Regions from separate parts of the Homo sapiens genome. Here region 2 is linked to region 1. The links are contacts of gene promoters, found by promoter capture Hi-C in blood cells and fetal thymus (Javierre and others, 2016). All regions are on one chromosome and are shown on one strand. Each heading gives the region's core, a stretch centred on a gene start or on the middle of the fragment in contact. The rest is flanking DNA. Distances are from core to core; before and after follow the strand shown. Region 1 holds the start of C2orf72 (chromosome 2 open reading frame 72). Region 2 overlaps GCSIR (GPR55 cis regulatory suppressor of immune response RNA).

What was found. The method cuts DNA at HindIII sites, captures the fragments that hold promoters and counts their contacts. A CHiCAGO score of 5 or more calls a contact.
Region 2: a fragment that was not itself captured here is called in contact with the fragment with the promoter of C2orf72 in region 1 in 3 of 17 cell types (M0 macrophages, M1 macrophages and M2 macrophages); the score reaches 6.1 in M0 macrophages.

What each region holds. Positions count from the first base shown.
Region 1 is chr2:231,033,776-231,039,541 of GRCh38, forward strand. C2orf72 (chromosome 2 open reading frame 72) reads left to right here and starts at 3,748. Exons shown (of 3, transcript NM_001144994.2): 1 at 3,748-4,424. The coding sequence starts at 3,791. The HindIII fragment of the contact is 4,632 bases long and covers 1,643-5,766 here.
Region 2 is chr2:230,896,717-230,902,594 of GRCh38, forward strand. GCSIR (GPR55 cis regulatory suppressor of immune response RNA) reads left to right here. Exons shown (of 4, transcript NR_038238.1): 3 at 1-374. Among named protein-coding and RNA genes, the nearest start is that of GCSIR, 13 kb to the left of the region's middle. RefSeq lists silencers at 5,612-5,691, 5,762-5,821. The HindIII fragment of the contact is 2,050 bases long and covers 587-2,636 here.

The DNA of each region.
Region 1 (5,766 bases), core at 2,498-4,997:
GAAAAGGAGCTGGCAAGCAACTAGAGGGAGATTACTCCTTGTTTTCCAAACCAACACTTTCTGGTCACTTTTTTTTTTTTTTTTTTTTTTTTGAGACAAGTCCTTGATCTCTCACCCAGGCTGGAGTGCAGTGGCACAATCACGGCTCACTGCAGCCTCGACCTCTCGGGCTCAAGCCATCCACCCACCCCAACCTCCCAAGGAGTAACTGTGACTAGATACACACTGCCATACCCAACTAGCTGTTTGATTTTTGTTTGTTTGTTTATTTAGGGATGGGGTCTCGCTATGATGCCCAGGCTGGTCTAAAACTCCTGGGCTCAAGAAATCCTTCCACCTCAGTTTCCCAAAGTACCGGGATTACAGGTGTGAGCCACCACACCAGTCTCTTATCACTTGATTCCCACCAAATTCTGTTTAAATGAACATGAAGAGGTAAAGTATTTCAAAAATCCCAGTTTACTTTATATCTTCATTGAACACCAGAGAAAGAAGAAGTCCATTAATTTTATGATGTTTTTCTAAGGTGCGGTGGGAGAGGAGGAAGAAATATTCTTGGCATCTTGCCTTTTTTTAAAAAAAAAAAAAAGATCTTTGCAGTTTCCTGTTAATTTAATACCAGAACCTTTGCTGTGTAAATAACACAGATAAAGATAAACTTTACTGGCCCTGGACTCCAACCTTCGTTTAACATTCCACCCCCCTCTGATCCATCCCGCATCCCGCCTATGGAAATTTGTAATTAGTTGTGGAGATTTAGAGGCTGAGAATATATAGTTCAGGAGGCAGAGCATGTTGGTTTTAGACAAGCCTTGTAAGAATGTGCTAAAAATCCCAGTATACCTGACAGTGCTTCTCTAGAACTTGTCTTTCTCTCTTCCTCAGAGGTGACCTGGATGGGGTTAATTCCCTTTCTGGTCAACTTGTAGGTTTCACCCTGGCTCTGCCACCCACCCTCCCAGTTTATTATACCCACTTAGGCTGTGCTTTGCTGGCATGGCCTTGCACTGTTATTTAGACAAGTGATTTAATCCCTCTTACTTGCTATTATTGAGCACTCTTAGTTCCTCTTTTTTTTTTTTTTTTTTTAAGATAGTCTCACTCTGTCACCCAGGCTGGAGTACACTGGTATAATCTTGGCTCACCGCAACCTCCGTCTCCTGGGTTCAAGCGAGTCTCCTGCCTCAGCCTCCCAAGTAGCTGGGATTACAGGCACACACCACCATGCCCAGCTAATTTTTGTATTTTTATTGGAGACGGGGTTTCACCATTTTGGCCAGGCTGGTCTTGAACTCCTGACTTCAGATGATCTGCCAGCCTCAGTCTACAAAGTGCTGGGGTAACAGGAGTGAGCCACCATGCCCAGCCAGATTTAGTTCCCTTTTTGATAGGGCACTTCCTCCAATAGTGTTTTCAAAGAGGGGCTATATGTGATACGCCTTCTGATTCTTTATATACCTGATAATTTAGCTAGAAATCCAAATCTAGGGTCAAAGTTATTTTTCTTTGATACTTTAAAACAATTTTTCCATTTTTTCTTAAACCCAATGTTGTTGCTAAGAAATCTGAAGTCAACCAGATTTTTGTTCCTTCCTCAGTCCTTCTACTACCCAGCTTCTGGGAATACAGGTGTGATGGCCCAAGCTTTAGCAGCCAATTTGGATTATGAAGATGTCAGAGGGCAATAGTGACTTGGTATGAAATCTGAGTCTTCAAACACCTAGTAAAGCAGAACTATTATACTATTTCAGCCATAAACTGTCCATCCCCAAACGTCTACAAAAGAGAAAAAGAAATTTTCATTGTTATTAGTGTTGTCTGTGTTATTAAGAAATGAATCTTAATTCATATATCCATTAAACCTGCTTTGTTTTATACTTTCCAGAAGCCTAACTGTTTTTTATTTTTTATTTTATTTTATTCATTTATTTATTTTTTGAGACAGAGTTTCGCTCTTGATGCCCAGGCTGGAGTGCAATGGCACGATCTCAGCTCACCAAAACCTCCACCTCCTGGGTTCAAGCCATTCTCCTGCCTTAGCCTCCCAAGTAGCTGGGACTACAGGCATGCACCACCATGCCTGGCTAATTTTGTATTTTTAGTAGAGACTGGGTTTCTCCATGTTGGTCAGGCTGGCCTCCAATCCCCGACCTCAGGTGATCCACCTGCCTTGGCCTCCCAAAGTGCTGGGATTACAGACACAAGCCACAGCGCCCGGCCCCAGAAGTCTAATTATTTTTCCCAGTGAATTCATGTTTCCCTAGATATCAGCTACTTTGGTTGGCGATAGGTACACCTGGAAGAGACTAAAACCTAGGCTCTTCCTATATATCCCACCTGGGAGCTTAAGGAATGGGGGTGTGATGGGACTTGCCTCTGGCATCAAATGTGAATGTAGCCACTCCCCATGTGCCACCCTCACACACACCAGACACCCCACTCAGGGAGCTTCTGGGCACTCTCCCCTGGCCAATCCTCTTTCATGAGGCAGGTCTCGTGGTTGGAATTCCTGACCCATGAAGTGGGAAGAAGAGGCTGCCGGGTCTGGTTTTTCTGTGCTGCTAGCCCCAGCCTGATATGCCATCCCTGGCTAGCACAGCTGTTTTCTGCCTCCCAGCAGTGCTGGGGAGATGGGGTTGAGAAATGGTCTACTCAGGCCAATGCAAGCAAAGAAAAGAGCACAAGTGTATAGCGTTCACTCAGCCTATCCCCCTTCTATGGCACTGAGGGGAGGAGGCGACAGGCCTTCCCTGGTTTTACATTGGTTTCTCAGAGTCCTTACCAACTCCCCTCTTGCTTCTGCGGCGTCTTTAGGGTACTATTCAGAGAAAGGTGCCAGCCCTTTAAGTACATTATCATCTTGTCACTTTCTGCTTTAATTTTACATTTCATTACAAATTACGTGAAATGTAATACTCAGTTCTTCAGTTGCACTCGCCAGATTTCAGGTACTCAATAATAGTCACATATGGTGCAGACAATAAAAAAGTTTTCCATCATCACAGAATGTTCTATTGGACAAGGCTGACCTAGATCCTTAGAAGGAAGGGAAATGCATTCCTGCTTCTGACCTGGCTGGCCCCTTGCTCCCCACGCAGATCAGAGCACCATCCGTGTCCTGCATCTGGCCCCCTAGACTTTCTGCTTTACGGAAACAGTCTGGGTTTCAACCCCAGCGCCTGGGGTGGTACAATAAGTATTTGTGGAAATAATGGACCCTCGGTCAGTTTTTGCTAAATGTTGAAGCCCAAAAGGAAAGCTGGGTGGCAGAAATAACCCCTGCGTGTTCTCTTTTATCTCACCTTCCTACCCACTTCTGCGCCCTCCGCCCCCTACCCCCCTACCTCCCACCCCACCTCGGCAAGACCCCAAACTGTGCAGGACTCTGCTCCAGGTCTCCAAACGATCTTATCTAGTGAGGGGATAATTGTCTGTCTTCCCAACCTCGGCTGCCCAGCGCCTGCACATAGTAGGTGCGCAGTAAGTATGTGTGGGATGGACGAACAAATGAATGAATGAATGACTCTCTGTTTCCCCGCGTCTGCGCAGGGACTTCGGGAGGAGCCACCCTTGGAGGGCTGAGGAGAAAGCCCTCTTCCTCCCACCCGGGCCCGCGATGCGGGCTGCGCCCAGGGGCGCGTGCACACAGAGGCCCCGCCCGGGGGCCCGGGGGTCCGGCTGGGCTCGGCCCTCGGGGGCGTGTCCTCTGTGCCGGGGCGCCACCGCCCCGAGAGGCGGGCAGCGGGTGCGCCCGGGCCGCGGCGGCCGCAGAGGGCGGGCGGCGGCCAGCATGGAGCGCGAGCTGGAGGCGCTGGCGGCCCGGCTTGCGCGCCCTGCCGAGCCGCCCTTCCAGGCGTTGGTGGAAGCGGCGGGGGGCCGCGGGCAGGTGCTGCTGGTGGGCGAGCTGTGGGAGCGCGAACAGAGCCGCGCGCTGCTGCGGGACTTCGCACGGGCGGTGTTCCCGCCGGAGCCAGGCGCGGCCAAGCCGGGCGGCGCGGCGGCAGAGGGCGCGGGGCCCGGGGCGGCGCGCGGGGCGCAGAGGGCGGCGAGGGCGGCTGGGGCGGCGGGGGCGGCGGCGGCGGCGGCGCGCGCCATCCGCTCGCCGCTGGTCTTCGTGCTGTGCCGCGCGTCGTCGCTGGCCGCCCGGGAGCCGCGGCGCCGCCTGCGGGAGATGCTGCGGGACGTGCGCGGCCGGCGGCGGGCCGGGGCGGCGCTGGTCGGGGTGCTGGTGGCCGAGGCCGGGCCAGAGGACGCGGTGGCGCCGGGGCTGCGGCTGCTGGAGGCGCTGTTGCGCGCCGTGTTCGGCCGCCAGGCGGGGGGGCCCGTGCAGGCGGCCGCCTACTGCCCCGGCCTCCCGGCCTCCTGCCTGGCCGTCCAGGCGGCCGCCTGCAGGGCCCTGCAAGCCGCCGGAGCCGGGCAACCAGGTGAGACTGCGCGGGGCCCGGCTGGGCGCGGGCGGGCGGTGGCTCGGGCACGTCCCCCAAGTTGGACCCCTTTGGCCATTCCCTTATTGAGCACCGAGGTAAACTGAGGCTCAGAGCAGGGAGGTGCCTAGAGCCAGGCCTCGCAGCTAGCGGAGAGCGGGCCGTGCGTAGCGGATCGAGTCTGTCCCGGAAGGGTCCGGAGTGCACGGGAGATGCCTAGGGGGCGTGGGAAAGCTGAGGGGCCGAGTAGAAGGCAGAGGGAGTGGGTAGAGAGAAGGGATGAATCGGGCAAGGCCGAGATCTAGGAGTTACGGGGTGGGTGGGGGTGGGGAGAGAAGAGGAGTGGGGAAGGAAATGGGAAAGCCTTGGGATGGGAAAGTTTCAAGGGGGTGGATGGGTGCTAAGGAGATTGGCGGTGCCAGAAGCTAAATTCTAGGGCGCTGCGCAGCCAGAGATGCGTCGGGAGCTCTAGGAGGGGCGGAGGGGCATCTCCAGCGCGGTGGAGGCTCGTCCTGGAAGCCCTGCCTGGTTTTAGGAAGAGGGCAAGGAATGGGTGCTCGGGACTTGACGTGTGGGGAGGTGAGAGGGACTAAGAGTACATTTTCTATTGATTTCTGGCCACCCACCAAGGCTGTGCACCCAACTGCTGTGTCCCTCAGCCTCCCCCAGGTCTGCTGAGGCCACCTTTTCCCTCCACATTCTCCTGAAAGGTGGAAGGGATTTAAGGGTCTTTTCCCAGCCCCCGTGACTGCTGCCATCAGCAGAAGGGTCAGGATCTCCTTCCTCCTGGAACACAAGGCTTTACAGGAACTCTCCAATGTTCTAGGATGAAAATATGCACATTAAGAGTAGCTGCATCTGGCTATCGCAAGGACAAAAAACCAAACACAGCATGTTCTCACTCGTAGGTGGGAATTGAATAATGAGAACACATGGACACAGGAAGGGGAACATCACACACCAGGGACTGTTGTGGCGTAGGGGGAGGGAGGAGGGATAGCATTAGGAGATATACCTAATGCTAAATGACGAGTTAATGGGTGCAGCACACTAACATGGCATATGTATACATATGTAACAAACCCGCACGTTGTGCACATGTACCCTAAAACTTAAAGTATTAAAAAAAAAAAAAAAAAAGAGTAGCTGCATCTGGCAAACCCGGGAGATCTTTGCACTCTCCAGCTCCCAGCTTTCTCTCCCTGCCCAGCTGGGCAGCCCTTCAAGCCCTCCAGCCCCTTCCTCTTAAGTAGATAATGAAGAAAGTGGCTGTATTGTGTGTCTCCTGGAGTATTGGCGTTGGTTGGGGGGCGGAGGGTCCCAGCAAGGAGACCTGTCACCT
Region 2 (5,878 bases), core at 362-2,861, 140 kb before region 1:
TCCTTCCAGAGCTCCACTTCCACTTCACGGGATCCTCTTAGTACCACAGTCAGCACCCAACATGCCTCTGAGATGGGCGTGTGATCCTGACTGGCCAGTCGGCGCCTTATTTCTCTGGCCACAGAACTTGGCTCAGGAGATGACATGTGACCAATCCGAATTTTCCCTGGGGACTGATACGTGGACACCAGGGACCTCGTGCACCAGTAAGGTCGCTGCCTTCCTTCTCTGCCAGAGATGATTCTGTCTCATCCAATCAAGACTTGAGTGGACTCCAGCTTCCCAGAAAGCCTTTCTCCATCATCCCAGCCCCACGAGATCTTACCCGCTTCACTGGTAACACCCAGAATCCTCAGCACAACTGCTACCACCAGGTACTGCCTTGCTCCTTTACACTGTTATGTTGTTTGAATCTGTTATGCAGCTGATTATGTGTATTCCTATTTCTACTAGGCACACATGGTTCTACCTGGCTAACTACAGTGGATTCATTGCCCAAATGAGGTAGGCAGCTGCTTCAACATATAGAGAGGCCAGGTATCCAATATAAGGAACCACATTATCCCAGTTTGCCTGGAACTTTCCAAGCTTTAACACTGAGTAGCCTTGGTCTCCCTCAGTCCTGGACAGACTGGGACATTTGGTCACCTTGTTCAATGAGCAGGAGCAGGAGGAGAGTGTTGTCTAGGAGAAGCCCCCTTTTATTTATTTCCCTTCTGAGACAGGGTCTCGCTCTGTCACCCAGGTTGGGGTCCAGTGGCAGGATCACAGCTCATTGCAGCCTCAACCTCCCGAGCTCATGCAATCCTCCCACCTCAGCCCCCCAAGTAGCTGGGATGACAAGCACACCACCACACCCAGTTATTATTATTATTATTATTATTTTTAATAGAGACAAGGTCTCACTACATTGCCCAGGCTGGTCTCAAACTCCTGAGCTCACGCGATCCTACCACCTTGGCCTCCCAAAGTGCTTACAGGTGTGAGTCACTGCACCCGGCCGGGAAGCCTCTTTTTAAAGTAAAGGACATAGACTGCACAGATTCAGCCCAGACTCCATCTATTTATCTATTTAATTGAGCTCCTACAATTTATTGAGCTTCTACTATGTGTCTGACACTCTGCTAAGTTCTGAAGATCCAGAGATGAACAAGACCTAGTCCCTTCCCTGAAGAGTTTATAGTTCAGAGCAGGCATTAGGGAAATTTTTTGCAAAGGGCTAGATTACAAGTGTTTTCAGTTTTACAAACCATACAGTCTCTGTCATAACTACCGTGGTCTGCTGTAGCTCCAAAGCAGCCACTGCAGACAGTGTGAATGGACATGACTGTGTCCCCACAAGACTTGAAGGGCAGCAGCCTCCTGGCACAGAGGTGGAGAAAAACACACAAAGCCTCAGAGCACCTGCCAGGCCCCTGCTGAAGGTAGCAGCTCCAGGCGGCCCCATAGGCGGCATCTCACATGGCCCCATCTCCTCCGCCGTGGTTGACTGGACCAGGGAGGAGCACGTGATTCACAGGTAGCCCATCCTCAGGCTGCCAGTGATGGACACGGGTGGAGAGGCCAGCAGAGATAGTGGCCGCCAGCTGGGACAACGGTGGTAGGAGACAGAGACCGAAAGGCAGGAAGGATAGAGCAGAGCCAATAGACTTCCCTGGACCCTCAAGCCCTTCCAAACCTGAGCCGTGTTCCAGGCCCCATGGGGACCTCCCGGGAGGTCTTGCTGTGAGCCTGTCCTGGGACCCGGGCAGGCTTGCACGGAGCTGAGAGTCCTGTCTTCTTTATTTCCATGTACATCCTTCAACAAAACAGCTTTTGCTTCCTTCTTTCTTGTTTAACAATTCAGTAATTTTTAGAAAATTTATAAAGTTGTGCAACCATGCAACCATCACTGTCACCCAGCTTCCATAATAAACCTGAATGAGCTCCCTGCACTCAAGAGACCCTCACTCACCCCAGTTCCTTGTGGAAAGTTAGGGTGCCATGGGATCACAGAGGAGGGACCCCCAGCTGGGGCCAGGGGCTCCGAGAAGTCTTCCCAGAGAGACCCAAGGACAGTCAGAGAATTCCTGGGATGATGTGGGGAAGGGGGATCCCCATCACCTCTTTGACCTTTAGTGGGCAGCAAGGGCCAACATCTGACCAGGTGCCTCGTGCAGCAGGCATGGTGTAGACAGAACACTTTGTCAGATGCCGATGAATCAAGCAGCTTTCCTTTTCCTCCATACCCTCCATGCCCTCCTGTGGCAGCCTCAGTCCACCCCAGCGTCCTTAGACAGGGCCTTGCAGGCCAGGGCACACTGCAGGAAAGGGAAGAATCTGCACGTGGCTCCCTGGGGCCGTCGATGATGGGCTTTGCTGCCTGCACCACCCGAGTTTTCATCCAAGAAAACACCCTAACCTGGTATTTCCCAAGGAATTCAAGTGAAATTGTCAAAAGGGCTTACATCCCTGTTTTAAGGCTGTGGAAGAGGTCTGGCCATACAATCTCCCTCTCCCTTTCCCCTTCACCCCCAGGAAAGAGAGAATCTCCAAGCACCCATACCCAGGGCCTCTGTCTTCCCACTCCCCTCTCCCATCTCCCCATAAGGAGCCTTTCTCTTGCTGAAGCAGGAAACTTCATTTTGCTAACAGGAAGCTTCTTTGTTCCCTGCAAGAGAAACCAGCTCCAGCTAATTCAAGCAAAAGAAGGCTCTTCGCAGGGATGTGGAGCAGCTCACAGTTGCAAAGAGGTTGCTGAGCAACGTGCACTGCCTGGAGGTGACTGCAGCGGCCCTGGGCTTCCCTGGGCTCCCCCGCTGGCAGACAGAATCTGACAGCACGGTTTGGTGCAAGGGTCCCTGGCCTTGGTCCTTTGGATCACTCAGTGACAGGGAACAGGAGCCAGTCTGCTTCCCTATCCCATTAGAAGGATCTGGATTTGCTCCATTCACCCAGACCTGGGTTTCACCAGGAACTAGGGGTGTACATCATCTATGCCCAAACCCAGGGCACCCCTGAGTATACGGCATTTCCCAGTGGGCCATTAAGAAGATGCGCATACAGAAGAGATTGTTTTTCCAAGTGAGAAGATCCAGCTTGAATATACAAACTATTAGGGTTGTGCATGTAATTGTTTAAATGTCTCCTGTAGGAGTTAATGCATTTGGTTTTCAAGACATCTTTTAATTCCACAGAAGGTAACTCCTTTCCACTTTCACATTTCATGGAACATTTTTTCATCTCAACCTGTCACCAGCATCTTGAGTGTCTGTCTCCTCATCACCCCTGAGCCACGGTTTGAGTCACCGGTGACTTTCAGGGTACGTCACCTCCGTCTCCTCTCAGTTACAGAGATTCAGCACTTTTTAAATCCCCACATGATGCTATCACTGGAAATTGTATCTAAGTTGCAAGTGCCCCTTCTCATAATATTGAGGGACTTAAAGTTGTTAGTTGAACCTTAAGAGAAATATGAGAATCTTCTTAACTGGTGATTGGGGCACACCAGGAACCCCGGCATTATCATCAATCCTACCAGAGGGCTTCTGCACACAGCCAGGTATAAGGGGCTTGGAGCAAGCCCCTAGCTGTCTGTTATTATTAGCTGGTGCTATGGGGCCAGGACCCAGGGTCTTTGAGCCTGCGGTTGCTTCCTGGTCTGAAGCGAGGGCTGGGGCAGTGGTGATGACTGCAGCTGTCAATCACCAGGTATTTATCAGCTCTGCTCTGCACCCAGCCTGTGCCAGGCACACAGGGTGGACGGGAGCCACGAGACCTTGCTGTGAGAGGTGATTAAGAAGGAGCATTTCTACTTAGGACACCGGTGCAAGGGAGGACCAAATGAGGTGTAACAGACAAGGAGAGAATAAGCCTGTTCTCGACCAGGTGCAATTGAGTAGTGGAAGCCAGTGGGTGGGCTTGTGACAGCCCCTACTGGGGAGCAGATGGGTCGCCCCTTGATGGCTCAGGATCTTTGAAGAGCCCTGAGAGGATTTTGGAGTGGGTACGGTGGGCCAGGACACAGAGACCCAGAGTGGGTGTTAGCATGGGGTGCCATGCAAAAATCACTTACAAGGGCATCAGAGAGCTGGTGCTGCTCATGCCCCCATGGGCCTCAGCTTCCACGTCTGCACAATAGTTCCCTTCAAGCCAAGGTCTTGTTACAGACCTGTTTCTAGCCCCAACTCCTCCAGCTTTATGGGGTCACCCCCCCTTTTTAAATCTCCAAGCAGAAGGGCTTGTGATTTTATCCCACATTCAGTGGGAACCCTAGCATCTCCCATCATAGTCGTAGAAACTGCCAAATTCTCCTCTGAGCCCTGAGTCCTACAGGAACTGTCCTCCACGTGTATCTGAGCCCACAGGGAGCACATTCCCCCTTTCTTTCTCCAATAAAGGACAGCTGACTCCAGGGAGAACTGGTGGGAGACTTCCCTGAAGGCCAGGGGTGACGGAGATGGATGGTAATGCACAGCAACCAGAAACACCCCCCAGCCCCATCCTGCCAAGGGAGTGCTCCTTCCCTTATGCCACCCCCTCACCTGGTTTGGTTGGTTTCAGATGCAGTGCAGCCTTGGGAAGTCGGTGCTGGACCCCACCTGTGCAGCCTGTTTGCCGCAATTTCAGAGTCACTGGAGATACAGTATTTATAAAAGCGTTTCTCTCTTGGTTTGAACTACAGCTTTGCTCCCAGTTTCAATGTATATAGTCCTTGGAGGAACAACCCTGGCCAAGAAGTTATACCAGAGGCAACTGACCCCTAAGAGCAGGTGATGAAGAGCAGGAGGAGAGAGATGGCTGCAAGCTGGAAGAAGGGTGGTAGTTTGCAGTGGTGGGGACAGGGGATACCACAGGAGGGGATTAGGAATTGGGAAAAGGACTCACAATCGTGTCAAAGGCAGAATCTGCTGGGAGTGGTTGGGCCTTGGAGATGCTTGATGGGGTGACAATTAGGTGACCCCAAGTACTTTCATGAGAACTTTTATAACATAAGGTTAGGGAGCCGGATGCAGTGGTTCACACCCGTAGTCCCAGCATTTTGGGAGGCTGAGGCGGGAGGATCACTCGAGCCCAGGAGTTTGAGCCCAGCCTGGCCAACAGGGTGAAACTCCATCTCTACTAAAAATACAAAATATTAGTCAGGCATGGTGGCAGGTGCCTGTAGTCCCAGCTACTCGGGAGGCTGAGGCAGGAGAATCACTTGAACCCGAGAGGCGGAGGTTGCCATGAGCTGAGATAGCACCACTGCTCTCCAACCTGGGCAACAGAGCAAGACTCTGTCTCAAAAACAAAACAAAAACAAAAACAAAACCATAAAGGTAGGTAAGGTCATCCTCTGATAGTGGAACTTACTACATAGATACATGCCAGGAGGCAGTAATAGTAATAAAATATCATATAAGACGATGATGATGGTGAAACTGGTATGACCTACTTCACCAACTTAGATTACAAAATGGTCAAATTTCTTTTATTGCTTAATTTATTTTTCCCTATGGGTCTTTTAGGCAGAAGACTTGCCCCCAAATTACTCAAAGACCCCAGGGACCTCCTTTGCTTCCACACCTGAGGGAGGAGAGCCAGGGTTCCATCAGCCCCTGCTGCTGTTTCTCCAAGCTGTCACAAGGTGACACTGTTGCAGCTTGGTGTCTCAAGGAGGGACGCTGCTGCCCCAGACGCTGGGATGCCCTTGGTGGTTGAGGTTCAGGCTTAAGACTCTTCTTAGTTATCATTTCACACTCGGCCATCCCTTCCCAAAGCATAGCTCCTGGGGCAGGGCGGCTGGGTTTGAAGGGGTGTCCAGTATCAGCCACGTTCCATGCTGGCCAGAACAGTGTTATCAGTTGAGATCCCCCTTAACACAAGGTGATTTATTTTGGGGGCCTCATTGCTTGCC